3 separate regions of the Homo sapiens genome follow, and regions 1 and 3 are each linked to region 2. The links are contacts of gene promoters, found by promoter capture Hi-C in human tissues and cell types (Jung and others, 2019). All regions are on one chromosome and are shown on one strand. Each heading gives the region's core, a stretch centred on a gene start or on the middle of the fragment in contact. The rest is flanking DNA. Distances are from core to core; before and after follow the strand shown. Region 1 overlaps MRPS21 (mitochondrial ribosomal protein S21). Region 2 holds the start of MLLT11 (MLLT11 transcription factor 7 cofactor). Region 3 holds the start of APH1A (aph-1A gamma-secretase subunit).

Region 1 (3,927 bases), core at 1,198-3,697, 760 kb after region 2:
ACAACAGTATTCTGCTTCTCAAACAAAAACCACCCATTTCAGAAGACAAACTGTTGCAGTATCCATGGGTAAAAGAGGGAGTGAAGAGCTGGGCTAGACTCTTCAATCAGAGTAAAGAGGAAATGGAAGCCGATAAGGGACACTTGGATAAAAGAATGATCTAAACATGTAAACATTTATTTCTGCTGAGACTTTGTGTTTAATACTGTCTAATGAAGGTTGCTTTTTGGACTAGAAAGTAGTATATTGGAGAAAATATAGAAAAAAGCCCCTGAAAGAAAAAGATTGGATATATAATGTAAAAAGTACAAGGAGACTGGATTTGAGAGAATATAAAAACGACAGAGACCCTGAGTAAATATGACCTAGGAAGACGAACCTATTGGAATGACAAAGACAGTTTAAAAGTAGGATGAAACAACACTGCAAGAGGAGGAAGGGGTTGAGTATGACTCAAGGAACCCTACTGGAGTTCCAAAAGGCTTCTAAAACAAAGGTGATCATCTTACCAAGGAAATGCCTGTACTGTCAGGCAAAAGGGCAAGACAAGGAAAAAGAATAACAAAAGAACATAAGAATGGTGAAGGGAAAAGAAAGAATATAATGATGGGGGTTGGTAAATGGCATTCCCTGGATGTACTACTTACTTCCAAAACACAGACCAAATAAATTCCAAGATGCCAGGTGAGGATTCCCTCCCTTACCCGACACGTTCTAGTCATACTAAAAAAGGCACAGATTATCTTCAAATGCCCCAGAGTCCCTATAGTAGAGGTATCTACTCAACTTTACCTCTAACAGAAAAGGATGCAAGAAAAGCTTTGTAAAACACAAGAATAGAGGGGGTGTTACTAATGATGCTTCCTTCTGCTTCCAAAAGTAGTTCAAGGACTAGTACATCAAGAGCTTTAGAGTAAACAGATCAGCCTGGAGTTCGGGCGCCTGGCAACCTAATACTGAAGGAGAAACCAGCTGCCAGTTTTAGTGAAATTCAAATGATTATGTAAAAGGAGCCAAGCTGCCTGGAGCGGGGGGAGGTGCGGGTGGCAGACTCACATGTCAGTGTAGCCAGTCTACGTCAGGACAGACGTGTATGCAGAAGGACTCAATGGACCCAGAAGGTAGCCCACTAGGAGTAAAAGGAGTCAACAGGGCATGCTTCCAGTGTACTCACCTTTCTTTGCTTGGGGGCCAGCCAATCATGCAGGGCTTCCTAGCAACCCCCACTCTCCACCTTCTCATCCCGGGGCACCAATGAGGGCCCCCAGTTATATAACAGGCATTTTGTGGTGGCCTCACTGGACAGACACGTAGGCTATTTCCTTTGTAAGACTCTCTCTGTACTCCAAACATGGTAAAGCTTTAATCACCTCCCTCTAGACTCATTTGCTCTCCTACCTATTGTTGTAATTAGACCACAGAACAAGCAAATTATTTTTAAACTACCAGCTATGAGAAAGCTGAAAGAGATCAGGAGAGGCCTGGAGTGTGAGAAAGATATACAGAAAAAGTGGCTAGAGAGAGGACATTTGGGAAAAGCAGAGAAAAAGAAGAAACAGAAAAGTGCATCAGTCAGAAAATGTGTTTAACAGGCAGCAGGAAAACAGAAGATTGGATCACTCCAAAATCAGTCTGCTCACGTATGCAAGCTTGAAAGTCCTTACCTAGAAAATTATTCTAAGAGGCCGGGCACGGTGGCTCACCCCTGTAATCCCAGCGCTTTGGGAGGCCGGGCGGGCCAATCATGAGGTCAGGAGTTTGAGACCAGCCTGGCCAACATCGTGAAACCCCGTCTCTACTACAAAAAATTAGCCGGACGTGGTGGCAGGTGCCTGTAATCCCAGCTACTCGGGAGGCTGAGGCAGGAGAATCACTTGAACCCGGGAGACAGAGGTTGCAGTGAGGCGAGACCACGCAGTCTGGGCAACAGAGAGAGACTCCGTATTAAAAAAAAAAGAAAGGAAAAAGAAAATTATTCTAAGACTGAAATATTTGTTCATTTCCCCCCTGCCCCGCGAAGCTATAATACAATTTATGGGACTCTGAGTCTATGGGACTTGAATTTCTTTTCCTTTTTTGAGACGAAGTCTCGCTCTCGTCCCCCAGGCTGGAGTGCAATGAATGGCGCGATCTCGGCTCACTGGAACCTCCGCCTCCTGGGTTCAAGCGATTCTCCTGCCTCAGCCTCCTGAGTAGCTGGGATTACAGGCACCTGCCACCATGTCCGGCTAATTTTTTTTCTTTTGAGACGAAGTCTCGCTCTCGTCCCCCAGGTTGGAGTGCAATGGCGCCATCTTGGCTCACTGCAAGCTCCGCCTCCCGGGTTCACGTCATTCTCCTGCCTCAGCCTCCCGAGTAGCTGGGACTATAGGCGCCCGCCACGGCGCCCAGCTAATTTTTTGTATTTTTAGTAGAGACGGGGTTTCACTGTGTTAGCCAGGATGGTCTCGATCTCCTGACCTCGTGATCCGCCCCCCTCAGCCTCCCAAAGTGCTGGGATTACAGGCATGAGCCACCGCGCCCGGCCAATTTTTGTATTTTTTTTAGTAGAGACAGGGTTTCATCATGTTGGCCAGGCTGGTCTTGAACTCCTGACCTCAGATGATCCACCCGCCTCGGCCTCCCAAAGTGCTGAGCTTACAGGGGTGAGCCACCGCGCCTGGCCAAATTTATTTTTCTAACCACTCCTCTTCTTTCTTAAAAAGAAAAGAATATAATTCTTTTCTTTTTAAGCAATGTAAATTGCTTTTTTCCAAATCCTACTCCTACTTTGGTGTTTTAATCCCTGAAGAAAAGGTAATACTGTGCTTCTTAACCAGGGTAATTAACAGAATGCCAAAGGATACAAGTTTCTGGACAAATTTGATGCATCTGCCTGGAGGCACCAATTTTAACTCGAAGGAGTGGGGGTGTTACCCATAAAACAGATGCAATGGCAACGAATACGAAGTTCACCTTACATTTTAATTTAGGGAAGCTTCAAAGAAATTCCATGTTTGCTTATAGTAGCAGAACCCCTATAGTTCATTCACTCTCCTCTGCTGTTAACGACACTTCAGTAAAAAAGTTTGACAAACATTAAATAAGTGACAAAAAAGATAAAGGAACATTTATGTTCATTAAGTAGACATTTAATGAGAGCTTTGGATGTGCCAGACACTTTGGTAAATCCAAGAGATACACAAATGAAAAAGCATAGGTTTCTGTCCTTAAGGAGGCTACAAGCCTTTTTTTTTTTGAGACAGGGTCTCACTTTGTCACCCAGGCTGGAGTGCAGTGGCGCGATCTCGGCTCACTGCAACCTCCAGCTCCCAGGTTCAAGCGATTCTCCTGCCTCAGCCTCCCGAATAGCTGGGATTACAGGTATGCACCATCATACCCGGCTAATTTTTATATTTTTAGTAGAGACGGGGTTTTACCATGTTGGCCAGGCTGGTCTTGAACTCCTAACCTCAAATGATCCGCCCCCCTCAGCCTCCCAAAGTGCTGGGATTACAGGCATGAGTCACTGTGCCCAGCCAGGAGGCTACAAGTCTATTATAATAATTTTCAATCCTGGTGAAATCTCATGGTATGTTTTTTAAAATGCTGCCATCCAGGTTGCAACCCCTGGAGATTCTGATTCATCTCAGATTGGGCCCTGGCATTAGTTTTGTTTTCTTGATGGTTCGTTCCCTAGGTGATCCTAATAGGCAGCCAGGGTTGAAACCACAGGGTGTCACACTGACCACTCTCCGGCTCTCTAATATTAACACTTCGACCCAGGAAATAGGTTTGTGTAAAATGCCAGTCACCAACAAAAAGAGAACCATAAAAGTAGTATGTGGGCTGGGTGTGGTGGCTCACACCTGTAATCCCAGCACTTTGGGAGACAGAGGCGGGTGGATCACCTGAGGTCAGGAGTTCGAGACCAGCCTGGCCAACATG
Region 2 (4,161 bases), core at 227-2,726:
ACAGGGTACCAAATACATTCAAGAAAGACATGCATGCAAACATACGTGGCATTAAAATCAAGTCAAGAACATAAAGTAATACTACACAGAAAATTGAAGTTAAAATGCTATTCACTAATGTAAGTAGTAATGACATTTTTGATTTAATATAGTATGGATTTAATTATCAAATACTCCAAATTTCGCAAAAGATCCTTTTTTGGCTAGCTTCCCCTTCCCCTCCACAAATGCTCTCCAGCCCTACTTCATCTATCTTTACATCTTTCATTATCTTAAATGGTATCATTTACTTAAAGGGTTTTGACAGTGCCTTGTACCACAATATATGTTCAATAAATGCTTCCCACTATCCTTCACTTTAAATTATCCGGGTATTTTAGGCAAAGGCAATATCTAATTATCACTCTGTTCTTAGAGATACATGATTAGCAAATGTATAGATTAGAAAGATACACTCTCGGAGCCACACAGACACGCCCAAATATCCTTTGTCCAGACCCTTTGTGGGCATCCAAGGCCTACTCAACAGGGCCTTGCTGTGTCATGCTGCCACCATGGGGAAGGGGGAAGGACAAGGTGGTGGTGGTGGTAGAGGGGAGCAGAACCTCTCTGACATCTCATAATGTGTGCCTCAGTCAGAGCTTGGATTTTCCTACTAGCATTCCTCCACCAATTCCACTGAGCTGCAAATCATTCTTTTCCAGAATCTGTCCCCATACCTAGCTCCTGTGGGCTATACTGATTTCACTATGGAATCAGGCAGTTCTCCAACACAGAGGCCCCCACCTTTCCTACCCTAGGCTGCCTCTTTCTTTGGAGCAAAGATTCGAGGTGGAATGAAAGAGATTATCCAAAGAAAGGTCAGGATTACACCCAACATTATCCCATATAACCCCCTCCCAAACTCCCTCCTACAGAGAAACATAGAACACTACAGAAAAAAATTGCAAGTATAGGGAAGTAGAGGACAGAGAGATACAGTAGGACTAAAAATTAAACAGCTGGTAAAACAAATTATGGTTTGAAAAGGAAGATAAGTAGACTGAAGATATTAAATACACAGGACAATAAATTACAGAAAAGGATACTTGAAATGAGGTAGGTGCTGAGAAATAACTACAAGTAAATTGTTAGAGATTAATGGTCTGTATAAGGTAACAAGGCATGGATGCTGTGAAGAAATAACTACCCATTGTTCATAGCGCCCCCTTCTCTCCTCTTCAGCTGTCCCCCACCTCATGTGGGGTCTTTCAATCTAACCATAAGCAGCCGCTCTTCTATCTTTGCAGCCCCCTGCCCCCTCCCTCAGTTTGGTTTACCTGTTATCAATCAATTACTGGCGTGTTCCAAAGATGGAGGGAGTGCCTCGGGAGCTCCGGGGTCTGCGCCGGGCTGGAGAAATACAAAGCTGTTGGGGCTTTGACGGCTTTGTCTTCTCACTCCTTTTCCCTCTTCAGTGACTGAGTCTGTCAGTTCACTCTCCCCCTGCAATGCAGCCCCTCCTAAGAAGGGCGGAAGGATTCCCCGCCCCCTCCTGCCTGACTCGGCTAATTCAAATGATAGGTTCCAGAACACTTGAGGGAAGGAGAGACGATGAAAGCATCTCCCTAGGCTCATTGGTCTGCGCTATTATTCCCGATCTCTTCCAGCACCCCCGTGCTGACTGGGGGCCCAATGAATGAGCAGTTAATTGCCCTCTAATTTTAGGTCCTCTAATTTATGGATTTGAAATCTTAACTCTAGACTACAATGGAAAGGAGGAGTATTCCTTTCTTCCACAATTTAAGGACTTTAGGTTACAAAGTATTTTTAAGAATCAGAGTATTTTTCCACCCCTTCTCCCAATCCCTGCTCCTCCAGACTCGCCTCTCTACCCTCACAATGGGTAAATAAACCTAGTCCTATTCCATTTTGGGTAGAGCACAATAAATTTGGGGTGGGGGGCGTGCTTCTGCGAATCTCTGAACTTGGTTAGGTCTGGGGGTTTGGGGGGCTCCGCTTCGTTTTGCCCCGAAATGCCTGGCGAGTAAAGGGAACGTGAGATTCCGGGGGCCCCAGCTTGGGTGCCAGGGCCTCATCTAGGTGTCCGCATTCTCCAGTTCTCCCCGCAGGGGCGGCGGCCTTGAGGGGCTGCAGAGGCACCCTCCCACGTCCCGCGCAGTGCAGTGCCTCCGCAGTCCAGAGGGGAGCAGTGCGCCGGGCTCCGAGCCGGACGGGTTTCGTAATCGCGTCGCCGCCGCTTCCGCCCTCAGCCGGCCCCACCTCTGCCGGCTCGTACTCGGCTCCCCCACCTCGCCGCAGAGCTAGCCCGGGAAGCCCACACTGGCGGCCACGGAGCAGAGTCCCTCACCCCCACCAGCTGTAGCTGAACGTCTGGATGGTGGAGAAGAGCAGGTGAGGCCGTGCAGTTGGTCCCCTGGCCCGCCTGCCGCGCCGGCCGGGCCAGGCGGAGACACACCGGATGCGGGGTGTGGGGGAGGCGGGTGTCCTGGGCTGCAGAGATGCTGGGGTGGTGGGAAAGGGGTGCGCGCCCGGGGTGGCCGTAGTCATCCACGCTCCTGGGGTGCGCAGGCTGAGGCCGCTGAAGAGTAGAAGGAAAAGAAGGAACTGGAATGTTGGGGGAGGTGGGAGGGAGAGGGTCCGAAAGATTCCCAGAGAGGTCCCAGTCCGGTTAAGGGTTGAGAACAGCAGAGAACTTCTAGGTAGAGTTGTGTAGTGGGGGGAGACAGATACGGAATCTGTGTGATTGAATATATTTGGGGAGGGGAGGCTTAGGGCCTAGCCCTCTTTCCTCTTAAGCCCCCAGAAGACCTTTCCTGGGGAAGGGAAGGTTGGTGTTGGGCCTGTCACTTGGCTGAAATATGGAGTCCACACCGCTTCTCCAGAGTCCCTCAGCAGCCCTCCATGTCTCGGGGTCTCCACACAGGGACCAGCTGCTGCCCCGGGCTTCTAGCCAGAATTGCCCATGCCATTCTCTCGATTCTTTCTTTCTCTCCAGCTGCTTCATGTGAGGGCTTGTCAGGCCGCGGGTTGGAGGCCTTAGGGCCAGAGGCGGTGGGACCGGGAGAACCGGTTTGGGGCCCGAACAGGACCAGAGAACTAGCCTGTACATCCTTCCTCCCTGGCACCTCTTTCCCATCCCTTCTGCTCACCTCCCAACAGCTCTGAGACCCTCAAGTCCTAGTATGATCTTGGTGGGGGCGGGGGGTGGCTTTCCCGGTTCCATATTTCACTCTTGCCATTTGGAACTCAGAGAGGTCGAGTTCTGAGCACCACTTGGCTCTCAGGACGTGGCCTTATGAGGTCTAATCCTCATCCCTCCTGTTGTTTTCTCAGCCCCTTCCCTATTCACTGTGGGGTTGGATTCGGGTGGCTCTTCCGCCTGGGCTGACCAGCTCAGGACTTCATTTTTCCTCAACCCACTCTCTTCTGGCTGCTTTAAAGAAGAGTGGCCGCCAGTGGCTCTTACTTCCTTTTCTGGCTTTGTTCCCATCCCCCACTGCCCTGCGCTACCATCACATTCACCCTGACCTGTCTTCTTCACACTCTGACCCCACCCTCAAGTTTCAGAGACCCTAATGTCCTAGGGAATGGAATTTCCTGGTCACTTCTCGTCATCATTGGTCATTTCATGCCAAGTCCCACACACACGCTTTCCCTCCACCCAGCTCTGGTCAGGTCCCTGGAAAAGAAACAGAAATGGCCTTGTTCTCTCCACTGCCCCTTTCCCTCTCTCCTTCTCCTCCCCCTCTCTTCTCTTCCCTCCCAGCACTATCCACCTCTGTCCCTCAGCTTTGAGCAGAGTGGGGGATGTTGAGGGAGAGTCCAGTCACAGTACAGCCTGCCTGCTGGTGTTGGGGGTTTCCTCTAATTCTTCATTTTTCCCCAACCCTTACCACCTGCCACCACCACCATCAGGACAAACCCTATGACTGACTCACTGACGTCCCACTGACCACAGCTCCCCTCTCTGGACAGCGTGTTTTAGCTTCCGCTCCTTCTGGTTACTCCTCCCTTCCAGTGGTGAGAAGAGAAGAGAAAGCCCAGCCTCCTGGGTTCTCCCCTCCCCTAGAAGCTACATTTGAGTGTTTGTGTGATCTCATCTCAAGGCTGTTAAAAAAAAAAAAAACCTCTGTGTGTGTGTGTGTGTGTGTGTGTGTG
Region 3 (3,805 bases), core at 262-2,761, 790 kb after region 2:
GGACTACAGGTGCGCACCACCATGCCTGGCTAATTTTTTGTATTTTTAGTAGAGATGGGGTTTTACCACACTGGCCAGGCTAGTCTCAAACTCCTGACCTCAAGTGATCCAGCCGCCTTGGCCTCCGAAAGTGCTGGGATTACAGGCATGAGCCACTGTGACCAGCCTCCGTGTAAATCTATACAATCTATTCCTCAGCTCCTTTCCAGAATATCCTGGAAGACATGTAAAACATGTATGTGAGTGTGCACATATGGATTAAATAATAAATCACTTCCAGGAAGGAAAGGAAGTTTGGTTATCTTTAAACAATTTCTGTGGGGTTTTTTTTGGTACTTTGATTATGCTTTCAAAAACAATATTCCAGATTTCTTTCCTCTTTTCCATCCTCAGATTCCTTTGCCTAACATCTTCCCTAAGGACTAACCTCTCCCCATCCAAATGAGATTACAATACCCTCCTCTCCTACTTAACTTTCTTTTTCTTTTTTGAGACAGAACCTCACTCCGTTGCCCAGGCTGTAGTGCAGTAGCGCAATCTCAGCTCACTGCCACCTCTGCCTCTTGGGTTCAAGCTATATTTGCCCCTCAGCCTCCCAGGTAGCTGGGATTACAGGCGTGCGCCACCACATCTGGCTAATTTTTGTATTTTTAGTAGAGATGGGGTTTCGCCATGTTGGCCAGGCTGGTCTCAAACTCCTGGCCTCCCAAAGTGCTGGGATTACAGGGGTGAGCCACCGCGCTCAGCCTACTTTAACTTTCATTCACTCTAATATACAACCCCTCTCAGCCTCAGGAAAACGCACCACTGAGGTTCATTTTTCAGAAAATAAATAGAGGAAGTATGACATAAAAGGAATTTATGGCGGGGGTGGGGTGGGGGTGTCGTTTTCCTTCAACCCCATCGCTCTAATTGCTTTTAAACTCCCGGACTCTTTCAAAATGCCTTCCTAACATTTCTCTCCAGGCTCCTTTTGCTTCTCTCCGATTCTCTTGTCATTACAGATGAAGGCTTCATTAGCGATATACTGTATTCCATGTTTATTATACTAGTCTGTCCGAAGAGCTCCTACTTTTTAATGTAATCTTCATCTCTTAGGCAGCAGCTCTAGCCCATTTCCTCTCATTCAAGTAAGAACAATACCCGTCCCTATCTCCCTGCGCCCCATCCTGTGCTCTCTTTGTATTTGTCCCTTAGATTCAAACAGGATCTACCCCCTCTGCAGCCCTTCAAGAAGAGGTATGATTGCTACCACTTTTCCCCACAAAGTGACGAAAGGAAACAGCGACGGAAGCGCAACCGAACCCTGGAATTGGTGTCTCGACTGGTCCATTCCCGGCCCACCCCCATTAACCGGCTCGAGCCACTCCCAGGACGAAGTCAAGGCCTCGGAAGGCGACTACAACTCCCAGCAGGTCGAGCAGCTCCGCCCGCGCTGATTCTCCATTGGCCTTCCGGGGGTGGGGATTAGATGGGAGGTGGCCGTGGGGCTGCGGCCGGGATTTGTCCCCTCTTCGGCTTCCGTAGAGGAAGTGGCGCGGACCTTCATTTGGGGTTTCGGTTCCCCCCCTTCCCCTTCCCCGGGGTCTGGGGGTGACATTGCACCGCGCCCCTCGTGGGGTCGCGTTGCCACCCCACGCGGACTCCCCAGCTGGCGCGCCCCTCCCATTTGCCTGTCCTGGTCAGGCCCCCACCCCCCTTCCCACCTGACCAGCCATGGGGGCTGCGGTGTTTTTCGGCTGCACTTTCGTCGCGTTCGGCCCGGCCTTCGCGCTTTTCTTGATCACTGTGGCTGGGGACCCGCTTCGCGTTATCATCCTGGTCGCAGGGTGAGTAGAGGGCCCGGGAGACGCGGGAGAGCGTCGAAGAGAGAGGTGCGGAAGGGGCTGGAGGAACTGGGGCAAGCCTGGGAGCCTGAATTGGGGACGATAAGTCGGAGGTGAAGTTTGGGCGGAGGTGAGGGGTTGGGTCTGGGAGATTTGTCCTTTCCCGCAGTTGGTTTCCACCTTCCAAGGATCTCACAGATTCCTCCTATATTCCTCCCAGCGACGTCAGAGAAGGCCCAAGGCCGAGACTCGTGAGGGGGCTGTGCTGACCTAGGCAGGCCGAGTCAGGTGCCTTAGGGGAGGATCCAGGAACGGATACCTCGCCCTTCCGTGCTCGCACACTCTGGCTGTCATCGCTCTGAAGACTCTTTAATTAGATTTCTCCCCTTTCCAGTGCGTTCACTTTTCTACAGATGAGTCTCTTGGTGGAGACAGTTACCCTACCTGGTCCATGTCTCCCTAACCATCCGGAAGGCTAACTTCCACTTTTCAAGCAGCTTTGGCTGGTTTCCCTCCTTGATTTCTCTGGCTCCCACTACTATTGCTTGTCTCACTGCCCCTGTCTTTTCTCAGGGCATTTTTCTGGCTGGTCTCCCTGCTCCTGGCCTCTGTGGTCTGGTTCATCTTGGTCCATGTGACCGACCGGTCAGATGCCCGGCTCCAGTACGGCCTCCTGATTTTTGGTGCTGCTGTCTCTGTCCTTCTACAGGAGGTGTTCCGCTTTGCCTACTACAAGCTGCTTAAGTAAGAAGATGGAGTGGTCTGGAGGGGAGAGGGGCAAAGGACTGCACTATGGGAAGTGGGGCAGCCCCTGGGTGCTGGTTTGGAAGAGGAGGCACTAAGGGAGGACATTAGAGGGAAAGGAGCATCCCTGCCCTCCCTCATGTTTCCCCTACCCCACCCCACCCCAGGAAGGCAGATGAGGGGTTAGCATCGCTGAGTGAGGACGGAAGATCACCCATCTCCATCCGCCAGATGGCCTATGGTGAGCCAAGGGAGAGGGACTGGAGGAGGGAGTTGGACAGCCCCCTCCTCTAGGGAAGTCTCTAAATATCCACATGTTCTAAGTGGCTTCTTACTTTCCTTCATCCGTCACTTCCAAAGAAAGTTGGTCTGGAGGGAGAGTAGATGTGAAAGAATTGTAACCGGGAATGGGGAGGGGTCAGTGGTGAACAGGCAATAGTGTGATCTCTGACATTGATGAGATCCTCCCTTCCCCCAGTTTCTGGTCTCTCCTTCGGTATCATCAGTGGTGTCTTCTCTGTTATCAATATTTTGGCTGATGCACTTGGGCCAGGTGTGGTTGGGATCCATGGAGACTCACCCTATTACTTCCTGACTTCAGGTAAGATCCACCTTCTATCTAGCCTTTACCCCCCATCCATCCTTGTCCCTGATCTGATTTATTGGCCTTCCCTGAGAGACTTCTTTGGCTCAACATCTCAGGAGCCTGGGAGAAGATCAGGGATGTATCTCCTCCCCATCTCCCTCCCTGCAGCCTTTCTGACAGCAGCCATTATCCTGCTCCATACCTTTTGGGGAGTTGTGTTCTTTGATGCCTGTGAGAGGAGACGGTACTGGGCTTTGGGCCTGGTGGTTGGGAGTCACCTACTGACATCGGGACTGGTGAGTTGGAGACAGGGGCCTGAGTTAGGGAGAAAAGCATTTAATGGTGAGTGGGATGTGGGGGAAAGGGTATCCTCACTTCTTAACATTTTTAACTTACCTGGGAGGAGGAGGAAAGGTGAGTCTTTCAAGGTCTCTCACCTCAGCATCATTTCTATCACCTGCTCTGGGGAGGAGGTTGAAAGGATTAGTCAAACTGTAATGCAGAGGGCCTGAGGTGAGCAGGAGCGGCAGAAACCTTTGAGTTTCTGAGGAGCTGAAAATCAAAAGTCCCCTTAACCACAAGATGTTGGTGCTCTGAAGGGAAAGACTGGAGAATTTGAGAGAGATATCTGGGAGTCAGAAAGGTACAG

Evidence for each region. Contacts are between HindIII fragments. The study calls those that stand out against the background at their distance.
Region 1: a contact is called between a fragment that was not itself captured here and the fragment with the promoter of MLLT11 in region 2, in 1 of the 25 tissues and cell types used here (dorsolateral prefrontal cortex).
Region 3: the fragment with the promoter of APH1A here is called in contact with the fragment with the promoter of MLLT11 in region 2 in 1 of the 25 tissues and cell types used here (lymphoblastoid cells).

The regions. Positions count from the first base shown.
Region 1 is chr1:150,299,654-150,303,580 of GRCh38, reverse strand. All of the region lies in intron 2 of MRPS21 (mitochondrial ribosomal protein S21), which reads right to left. Among named protein-coding and RNA genes, the nearest start is that of MRPS21, 7.8 kb to the right of the region's middle. The HindIII fragment of the contact is 5,855 bases long and covers 1-3,927 here.
Region 2 is chr1:151,057,712-151,061,872 of GRCh38, reverse strand. MLLT11 (MLLT11 transcription factor 7 cofactor) reads right to left here and starts at 1,476. Exons shown (of 2, transcript NM_006818.4): 1 at 1,320-1,476. CDC42SE1 (CDC42 small effector 1) reads left to right here and starts at 2,251. Exons shown (of 5, transcript NM_020239.4): 1 at 2,251-2,394. RefSeq lists an enhancer at 1,339-1,930 and silencers at 3,794-3,843, 3,854-3,913. The HindIII fragment of the contact is 8,370 bases long and covers 1-4,161 here.
Region 3 is chr1:150,266,722-150,270,526 of GRCh38, reverse strand. APH1A (aph-1A gamma-secretase subunit) reads left to right here and starts at 1,511. Exons shown (of 7, transcript NM_001077628.3): 1 at 1,511-1,829; 2 at 2,400-2,570; 3 at 2,738-2,811; 4 at 3,049-3,171; 5 at 3,325-3,452. The coding sequence starts at 1,717. It overlaps LOC124904414, which reads left to right. Exons shown (of 2, transcript XM_047438213.1): 2 at 1,198-1,471. The coding sequence ends at 1,471. It also overlaps a transcript of C1orf54 not described here. RefSeq lists enhancers at 1,059-1,108, 1,169-1,218, 800-1,411 and a silencer at 1,272-1,729. The HindIII fragment of the contact is 12,966 bases long and covers 1-3,805 here.